Linked DNA regions of Homo sapiens: region 2 is linked to region 1. Evidence: promoter capture Hi-C in human tissues and cell types (Jung and others, 2019). All regions are on one chromosome and are shown on one strand. Each heading gives the region's core, a stretch centred on a gene start or on the middle of the fragment in contact. The rest is flanking DNA. Distances are from core to core; before and after follow the strand shown.

Region 1 (4,065 bases), core at 941-3,440:
ACAGAAGGAGGTAAGTACCCCCCAAAATCAGCAGGATCCAGAAGGGTATTCGGAAATGTTCTCCTCTGTGGCCACATGGCCCACTCCTACTGGTGCAAATGAGAGAAGCTGGAAAATTGCCTTAAATGTTGCCCAGATGCCACCTTTTTAAATCCTTTCCTGATTTCTTACCTCCTTCTCATCTTCCTTCTTCCTTCTCCTTTCCTTACCCCCTAGATTTGCTTGCTTCAGTTGGAATGGTATTTTTGGCTCTTATAACCAAGACCCATGAGTAATACAGAACTCATCAACACTCTTTACACTCTTAAGCAGTTGGAGACCTAACCAGATGCCTGGACACTGGGGACACAAACTGGAATAAAGTTCAATGAGAAGTGGACTGTGTCTTCAAGAAGCCCTCAGCATTGTGAATCGTGGACATTGTACAGTGTGACACGTGCCACACTCACAGTGTGTATAGGGTGTGTTGTGGAGAAGGGGTCCTCATTTGGACTAAGGAGTTAGCGAAGGCTTCCAGAAGCTGAGTAGGAACTAGAAGTAAGGACATTTCAGGCAGAGGCAATAACCGAATAAAGACAAAGGAGTGTCAGATGGCACATTATTCTTCATTCTGGAGACCCCGAGTAGTTTGATATGGCGGGGACGGAAGGTGCCTTTAGAAATGTGAAGGCAGATGGCGCCAAGGGTAGGAAAACGTCAGACCATGGGGGACCTTTGTCCTTCAGGTGTAAAATCATTTAAAGATTTAAGTGAGGGAAAACGTGCTCACGTTTGTTACTAAGATGACTGCTTTGGCTGCAGTGTGGAGGATGGATTGAAAAAAAGCAATTGTTATCTTACCATAGGATCATGAGAATCTCTCTTCAATAAATGCGAGAAAGGGCAGTCTGTTTTTCATGATATACTGATTGCCAGCATCTTGACAGAAGGGCTATGGCAAAACCGAGAAAACACTATCAATATTAGGCAAAAAAGCAAAACAAAACAAAAGAAAGGAAAACAAAGATCTCTCTAGCCCCAACAGTGCTAATTTTTGCATACCCAGCAATTACATTTCTAATGAAAGTCATTGCTGCCAAAATCAATCAGTATAAATGTTGGAGACTCCCTTCTCTTTCCGTGAAAAGCTTTTACTATTTCGTTTCACTAAAGCTTAAAGAGAACTTCGGGTTTATGGTTCATTCTAGAGCGATCCACCATAGGCGTGCTTTAAGATGATGGTCAGGGAAACTGTCATTTAATCTCAAGGAAGCTGTCATTTGATTCTATTCAAAAACTAGGCAGTACACATCAGCAGGCAATGTAGTCTGATGCTGTGACCTACTTTGTTGGCTGAAGCCTTCCACTGTTCCTGGAAGGGAAGTTATTTTTGTTTCCTTTCATCTCTCATTCACATACATGGAATATACACATTGGTTACTCTAGAAAACACATGGGTAGTCCTAGAGCAAAATGGGTTTCAAGGTTATTTAATTTATGCCTCTTAAAACCTCAGACACTTTCCTCCCAGTAAAATTTCATGTGGTATACAGAACTTTTTTTAAAAAAAAAATTCATCTTCTCCTTACTTCTCCTTACCACCTACTTTTTTCTTTCTTTTCTTTTTTCTTTTTTTGGGTAGAGACAGGGGTCTTGCTATGTTGCCCAGGCTGGTCTCAAATTCCTAGCCTCAAGCGATCCTCCCGTTTTGGCCTCCCAAGGTGCTGGGATTACAGGTGTGAACCACTGCACCTGGCCTACTTTTTTCCCTTTCAAGAAAATACAGTACTCCAAGGCCTGAGTGACTATGAAATTTCAACTTTTGTGCCTTTGTACTCTTAGATACCATGTTTGTTTTGTTCTTCTGCAAGATTACACTAAAATCCACTTTTCTTGTATGTATACACTATTTAAAAAGTTTCACAGTCTCTTAGGGAAGCCACTGGCAACACATCTTCACAGTGTCCGTGGAGAAGGTTATGTGATTTAAGAAACACTTGTGTCTATACCATTTAATATTTAGGAATTTGTTGATTTTTTAGGATCTTTGGATGAATGAGTTTTTAATTTTATCCAGCTTATTTAGAAGAAATTGCCATGCTTGCTTTAAAAGGGTTTCTTCTCGGATCCCAGCGGCGCCCAGAGCGTCACGCTGCGCCCCCGCCCCGGGGTCGGTCATGGTCTGCGCCTGCGCAGGTCCCGGCTTGCTCGCAGTCCTGCGGGGCGCCGGCGGCGATGGGTTGGGGAAATGGACGCCTGGAGAACGGAAATCCAGTTATCAAAATGGACTCGGGAAGAGAGAACCTAACAGAACAATAACAATGGAAGAAATTGGGAACATTATCACAAAGCTATCATCCTGCCAAACTCCAGGCTCAGATGATGTCACAGGTTAAAAAATGCCCTTCATGAGAAAGATCTTAAGCAACATGATAGATTCAGAAGCTCATGAAAAGAGGCCACCAATACTTACATCTTCAAAACAAGATATATCACCTCATATTACAAATGTTGGTGAAATGAAGCATTACTTGTGTGGCTGCTGTGCAGCCTTCAACAACGTCGCAATCACATATCCCATTCAGAAGGTCCTCTTTCGGCAACAGCTGTATGGCATCAAAACCCGGGATGCAGTACTTCAGTTGAGAAGGGATGGATTTCGAAATTTGTATCGTGGAATCCTTCCCCCATTGATGCAGAAGACAACTACGCTTGCACTTATGTTTGGTCTGTATGAGGATTTATCCTGCCTTCTCCGGAAGCATGTCCGTGCTCCAGAGTTTGCAACCCATGGCGTGGCGGCAGTGCTTGCAGGGACAGCAGAAGCAATTTTCACTCCACTGGAAAGAGTTCAGACATTGCTTCAAAACCACAAGCATCATGACAAATTTACCAACACTTATCAGGCTTTCAAGGCACTGAAATGTCATGGAATTGGAGAGTATTATCGAGGCTTGGTGCCCATTCTTTTCCGGAATGGACTCAGCAATGTCTTGTTTTTCGGCCTTCGAGGTCCCATTAAGGAGCATCTGCCTACCGCAACGACTCACAGTGCTCATTTGGTCAATGATTTTATCGGTGGAGGTCTATTGGGTGCCATGTTGGGATTCTTGTGTTTTCCAATTAATGTTGTAAAAACTCGCCTACAGTCTCAGATTGGTGGGGAATTTCAGTCTTTCCCCAAGGTTTTCCAAAAAATCTGGCTGGAACGGGACAGAAAACTGATAAATCTTTTCAGAGGTGCCCATCTGAATTACCATCGGTCCCTCATCTCTTGGGGCATAATCAATGCAACTTATGAGTTCTTGTTAAAATTTATATGAAAAAAAACCATCAGTTAAGTGCCATTTATCAACTGAATAGACCTTCTAAGAAGAATGCAGTTTGGCCTCTTTCTTAATTGGCCAAATACAAGTTCGTGTCATAACTCCAGGCCACAGTGAGTTACGGGCAAAGCTGTTTTCCTTAAGCATCAACAAAACAGAATAAAAGGTTCCAATAGGAAAATGTAAGGGTTTTTTTTTGTTTTGTTTTCTTTTTCTTTCTTTCTTTTTTTTTTTTTTTTATCATTACCTAAGAGCTTTAGGCTAATTGCCTGGTAAATAGCTGTCCATCTGATGGCCTTTGACAGGGAACCTAATCCCCAAGATAAGATTCTTTTTCTCAAACCAGTCTTGAAATCTCCTGCATTAAAACATAAGTTGCTATGACCGGCCAGAGAGAAGGTCCTCAGGGGCCAGGGGCTCCTCAGGCTTCCTTTGTTACTCCATTGCTTTCTTCTGTGCCCTCAGGAGCAGCTGCAGAGGATAGTCTTCATTAAGCTCAAGCATATGACAAAGGGGCAGAACAGAGAAGAAAAACAGCTTGTTATGTAGAGGCTTTTCATGATACATTGCTTGTATTAGTTTTGAAACTAATCACCTATTGGATAGTCATTATACTATTTCTATTTAGATATGGTAGATCAAGGAGCTATGAAAGTTCCCGTTTTGCTTTCTAGGTTTGAAAGTTTTCTGTTTGATTCTGACTGTGACCCTCAACCCTTCCAAAATATTCTTATGTTAATTTCACTTATTTCATTGCTGA
Region 2 (4,098 bases), core at 1,085-3,584, 1.9 Mb after region 1:
TTTAAATATAATATTCCTAGTTATGCTTTTATTTATATTTCTTATTCCACTTGTATGCTGTGATTTCTCAATAGGTGGTTGAGTTATTGTTTGTTGCTCTTCTATACTACCTTACTCTTGTTTTCTTCTCTGGGCTTCAGTTTGAACAATTTCTGTTGCCTTATCTTTATTCCTATTGATCTTCTCTTCTACTATGTCGACTCCACTGTTTATCCAATTCGCTGAAGTGGTGGTATGTGTGTGTGTTTGTGTGTTTGTTTGGTATTTTATTTCTCACTTCTGAGATGTCCATTATATACTCCCATTAAAGTGTCAATAAATCTGAAATTTCCCATCTGCTGACTCATGTCAATTCTTTTCCTACACATGCCCTAACATATTTATCATAGTAAATTTAAATTCCATGTTGGCTAATTGCAACACCCTGGTCATTTTGGATCTGCTTATATTGACTGTATATTTCTTGATAGAGGTCACAGTTTCCTATAATTTCATATGTTTATCAATTTTATTACAAATGGAAAATTGTCAATCATACGTTGTTGGAAAATTTAGAATGCTTTTATCTTTTTCCTGGAAGTGTTGAATTTTGTTCTTCCAAGCAGATAAATGGCTGCAGGTCATCTTGATGTTACGAATAACTGTTTTTACATTTAATGTGAGTTTTGTCCTTAGTCCTTGGTTGTAATCGCAGTTTCTGATATTTGGTCTTTTTGAAGTTCTAATCACAAATCTTAGGCACTTATTATAAATTTCTCTTAAATTGTCCATATTACATTATCAAATTCTATCACTGATACTACACAGCTGTTGAAATTTCTGCTAAAAAGTTTTAGTTTTCTAACGATAGTATTTGCTCAATTTTCTTGGAAACTTTCCCTGTAAGATTATGGTTCAGATGTTGACAAGGGTGTGCAATTTGTTACTATGCAGATTCTGGGACTTCCACCTTTGTGGCTCTACTCTCCAATTAATCTTGCACCCTCAAACTCCAATCTCTGATGCTCAGTCAAAGTGAATGTTGCTTTCTGCTTGAGCCTTAACTCTGAAACACTCTGAAAATAGGAGAATGCTTTCAGAAAAAAGCTGCATGAATGTGGATTTCACCCATAACGTTTACCTTCTCTCAAGAGTCATGTTCCCTCCAGGGTCTGCTGCTTGTGGTCCCTTTCTGGTGCCTTCAGAAATGTGTTTTTGTTTTATGTTCTTTTATTTTTTACTTTTTAGTTTGGGGTTTATAATTGTTGTCATCAAAAAAGTAGGTTAGTCGAATCACAGTTATTCCACCGTAACTATAAACTGGGACCCAAAGTCATTTTATTCACTATGCCACTACTCACTTTTTGACAGACAACATTTTAAAACCTCCAAACACATTTTACCAGGAAGATTTCAAATCAACAAGGGCAAAAATTGGCCAGGCACAATGGCTCATGCCTGTAATCCCAGTACTTTGGGAGGCTGAGGTGGACGAATCACTTGAGGTCAGGAGTTTGAGACCAGCCTGGCCAACATGGTGAAACTCCGTCTCTACTAAAAATACAAAAATTAGCTTAGTGTGGTGTTGCACGCCTGTAGTCCCAGCTACTCGGGAGGCTGAGGCAGAAGAATCGCTTCAACCTGTGAGGCAGAGGTTGTAGTAAGCCTCAATCCCACCACTGCACTCCAGGGCAACAGAGTAAGACTCTGTCTCAAATACATAAATAAATAAATACACAAACAAAAACATCTACACGTTTCTGAAAAAGGATATTTACTTTTTTGCTGTAGTCTTCCTGAGATGAAAATCATTTTACTGTTGACAGCAAAAATAAGAACAAAGCACTAGTTTCAGATTATTCCATCACCAGAGAAAGCATACAAGTCCTTTGGTCTTTTTACAAGTCTGTGGATCCCAGCACACGGAAAAGTGTGCAGATAGTTATGACGGTACCTGAGAAAATGACAAACTCCCTGATGGGGATGACAGTACAGAGCACAATAGAATAGAGATTAGAAAATTCCCTCCTCCTTCCACTACCCACTTTAGGCTCTCTGTAAAGCCTACTTCATTCACCTGGGACTCTAGAGAAAAAAGCCTAGGGTAGCCCAGGTGATCCTTGAGGTTAAATTTTTACCAATTCAATAGAATGAGGGCTCAGTGTCAATTTTAATTTGTTTAAGTTAAACAAAGAAATTAATTTTATGCAGACATAATTTCCTTGATTGAGATTTTATAGTTGATAAAAATATCTGGAAGGGATGACACAGTGAGCATTCTAAAATATCTTAGCCTAAATGAACTAGACTGTCTGTATAAGAGGAAAGTTGTTGCAAGTTGTGGTTGTCAGCTGGGTATGTAGGTATGTATGTTACTGTTTTGGACTTGTACATTACACAGATAAATACCAGAAGCAAGAGGAAGAGCAAAAAGTGAATGTAAAGAAACAACATCAGTTCTTAAGTAAAGACAATAGATGCAAACACTAGCCACCTATATATTTTTGTATTATCAGGGATAAGTAATGTATAGTGGATAGGGTAAAGAGTAGGACAGTGGATGGGAGGAAATAAAGACATACATTTTAAGCTTTGGAATGTTTTGTACATTAAGCATGGTCATTAAATAAAAAAATTCTATTTAAACTTTATAATATACAAGTACATAGTTTGAAGAAATCTTTCAAGAACTCAAAATACATCACACATCAATTCCAAAGCATTAGGAACAAACCAGGGTAAAAGAAGAAAGCTAAAGACAAGTTTTGGCTGTTGATCTTCACTTAAGGGATAATTGAATATTAAAAAAGCAAAAATCAATCTAAGTCTGGCATTTACGCAATGTCTGAAAATTTGTATCTTTGCCTACTTTGGAAGATTTGGCCATAATACTTTTTATCTTCTTTCAGTAAAAAATGTAAGACTATTCTGCACTTAGGTTGAAATTTGACTTATGATGCTTTCAAACGATACGGTCCAAACCACTCATTAGGTAGTACATAAGAGAGAAATGTGATGCAATTTAGATGTAAAATTAACCACTTCTTGTGAAAAAAAAAAAGCTAGAAAAAGCTTGGCAAGTGAATTTGTTAAGTGTTTTCTTTTACGTTGAAATGTAATTTGATGCAGAAAGAGGAAAGAAAAGAAATACATTCTCATATGTCTCTGTGTTCCACAAAGATTTGGCTAGTCTAGAGCTAATTGGCCTATTGAGGATACTGATGTTTGTGAATGAATGTGCTAGGATTTTATTGAGTAATTATAATTTATTGATTTTTTTATTTATTGTTACTTTATAATCTAGTAGAACGCACTTAAGTCCGGAAGTATGGAGGATTTGCTTGTAATTTTGGCTTACCAAAAATGAATTACACTACCTTAAATCATTTGCTAATTTTTATATTCAGTATTTACTGAACACAGATATATGCCAGCTACTTTTACTGATTAATTTCAAATTTTAATCTTATCTCATCATTAAAGTGCCAAATATTCGCTAAAGATATGAGACCAGATAACAGAGAAAAATAATAAGGGTTTCAGAATTGGAACAGAAGATATTGAAATAAAAGGAACACAAATAACAAAATTTTACTAGAACCTAACTGAGTAAACAAATGTAAAAGAAGGCAAATGGGTTATCAAATTTGCCCAATTATTGTGAATTCATAAAAGGAATCAGAATGCCAAAGAGCAGAACAAAGGTATGTGGTCATAATGGTGGAGAAAAAAAAATATGTCTTAGGAAATTCAGTTAAACAGGTCTCATCTCCCATGACATGGCTAGCTTTGCTATGCCTATTGTGGAACTGAATATGAGAATATATGCCATGTTTAATCACTCTGGAGCTGAACACACAGGCTAGTGGAAGAGATATATACATTAAACACACAATTACTATACATTGAGAAGAGTGCCATAACAGAATAATCAAACTATAATGAAAGGAGAGATAAGGAAAATGCCAGCCCTTAAATGCTAAAAGTAAACGCAACACCCAGGCTACCTTTTACGTATATAGTGTGTTGAAAATCATGGAGAAGTTAAAAGCAAAGCCTTTCTCAAAACTCCACATGTGAAAGTGAGATCAGAATGAATGCATCTAATGAGAAGACACT

What was found. The method cuts DNA at HindIII sites, captures the fragments that hold promoters and counts their contacts. A contact is called where the count stands out against the background at its distance.
Region 2: a fragment that was not itself captured here is called in contact with the fragment with the promoter of SLC25A52 in region 1 in 1 of the 25 tissues and cell types used here (dorsolateral prefrontal cortex).

Annotation. Positions count from the first base shown.
Region 1 is chr18:31,759,005-31,763,069 of GRCh38, reverse strand. SLC25A52 (solute carrier family 25 member 52) reads left to right here and starts at 2,190. Exons shown (of 1, transcript NM_001034172.4): 1 at 2,190-3,486. The coding sequence starts at 2,409. The coding sequence ends at 3,302. The HindIII fragment of the contact is 6,307 bases long and covers 413-4,065 here.
Region 2 is chr18:29,823,951-29,828,048 of GRCh38, reverse strand. No RefSeq gene overlaps it. Among named protein-coding and RNA genes, the nearest start is that of MIR302F, 470 kb to the left of the region's middle. The HindIII fragment of the contact is 3,507 bases long and covers 581-4,087 here.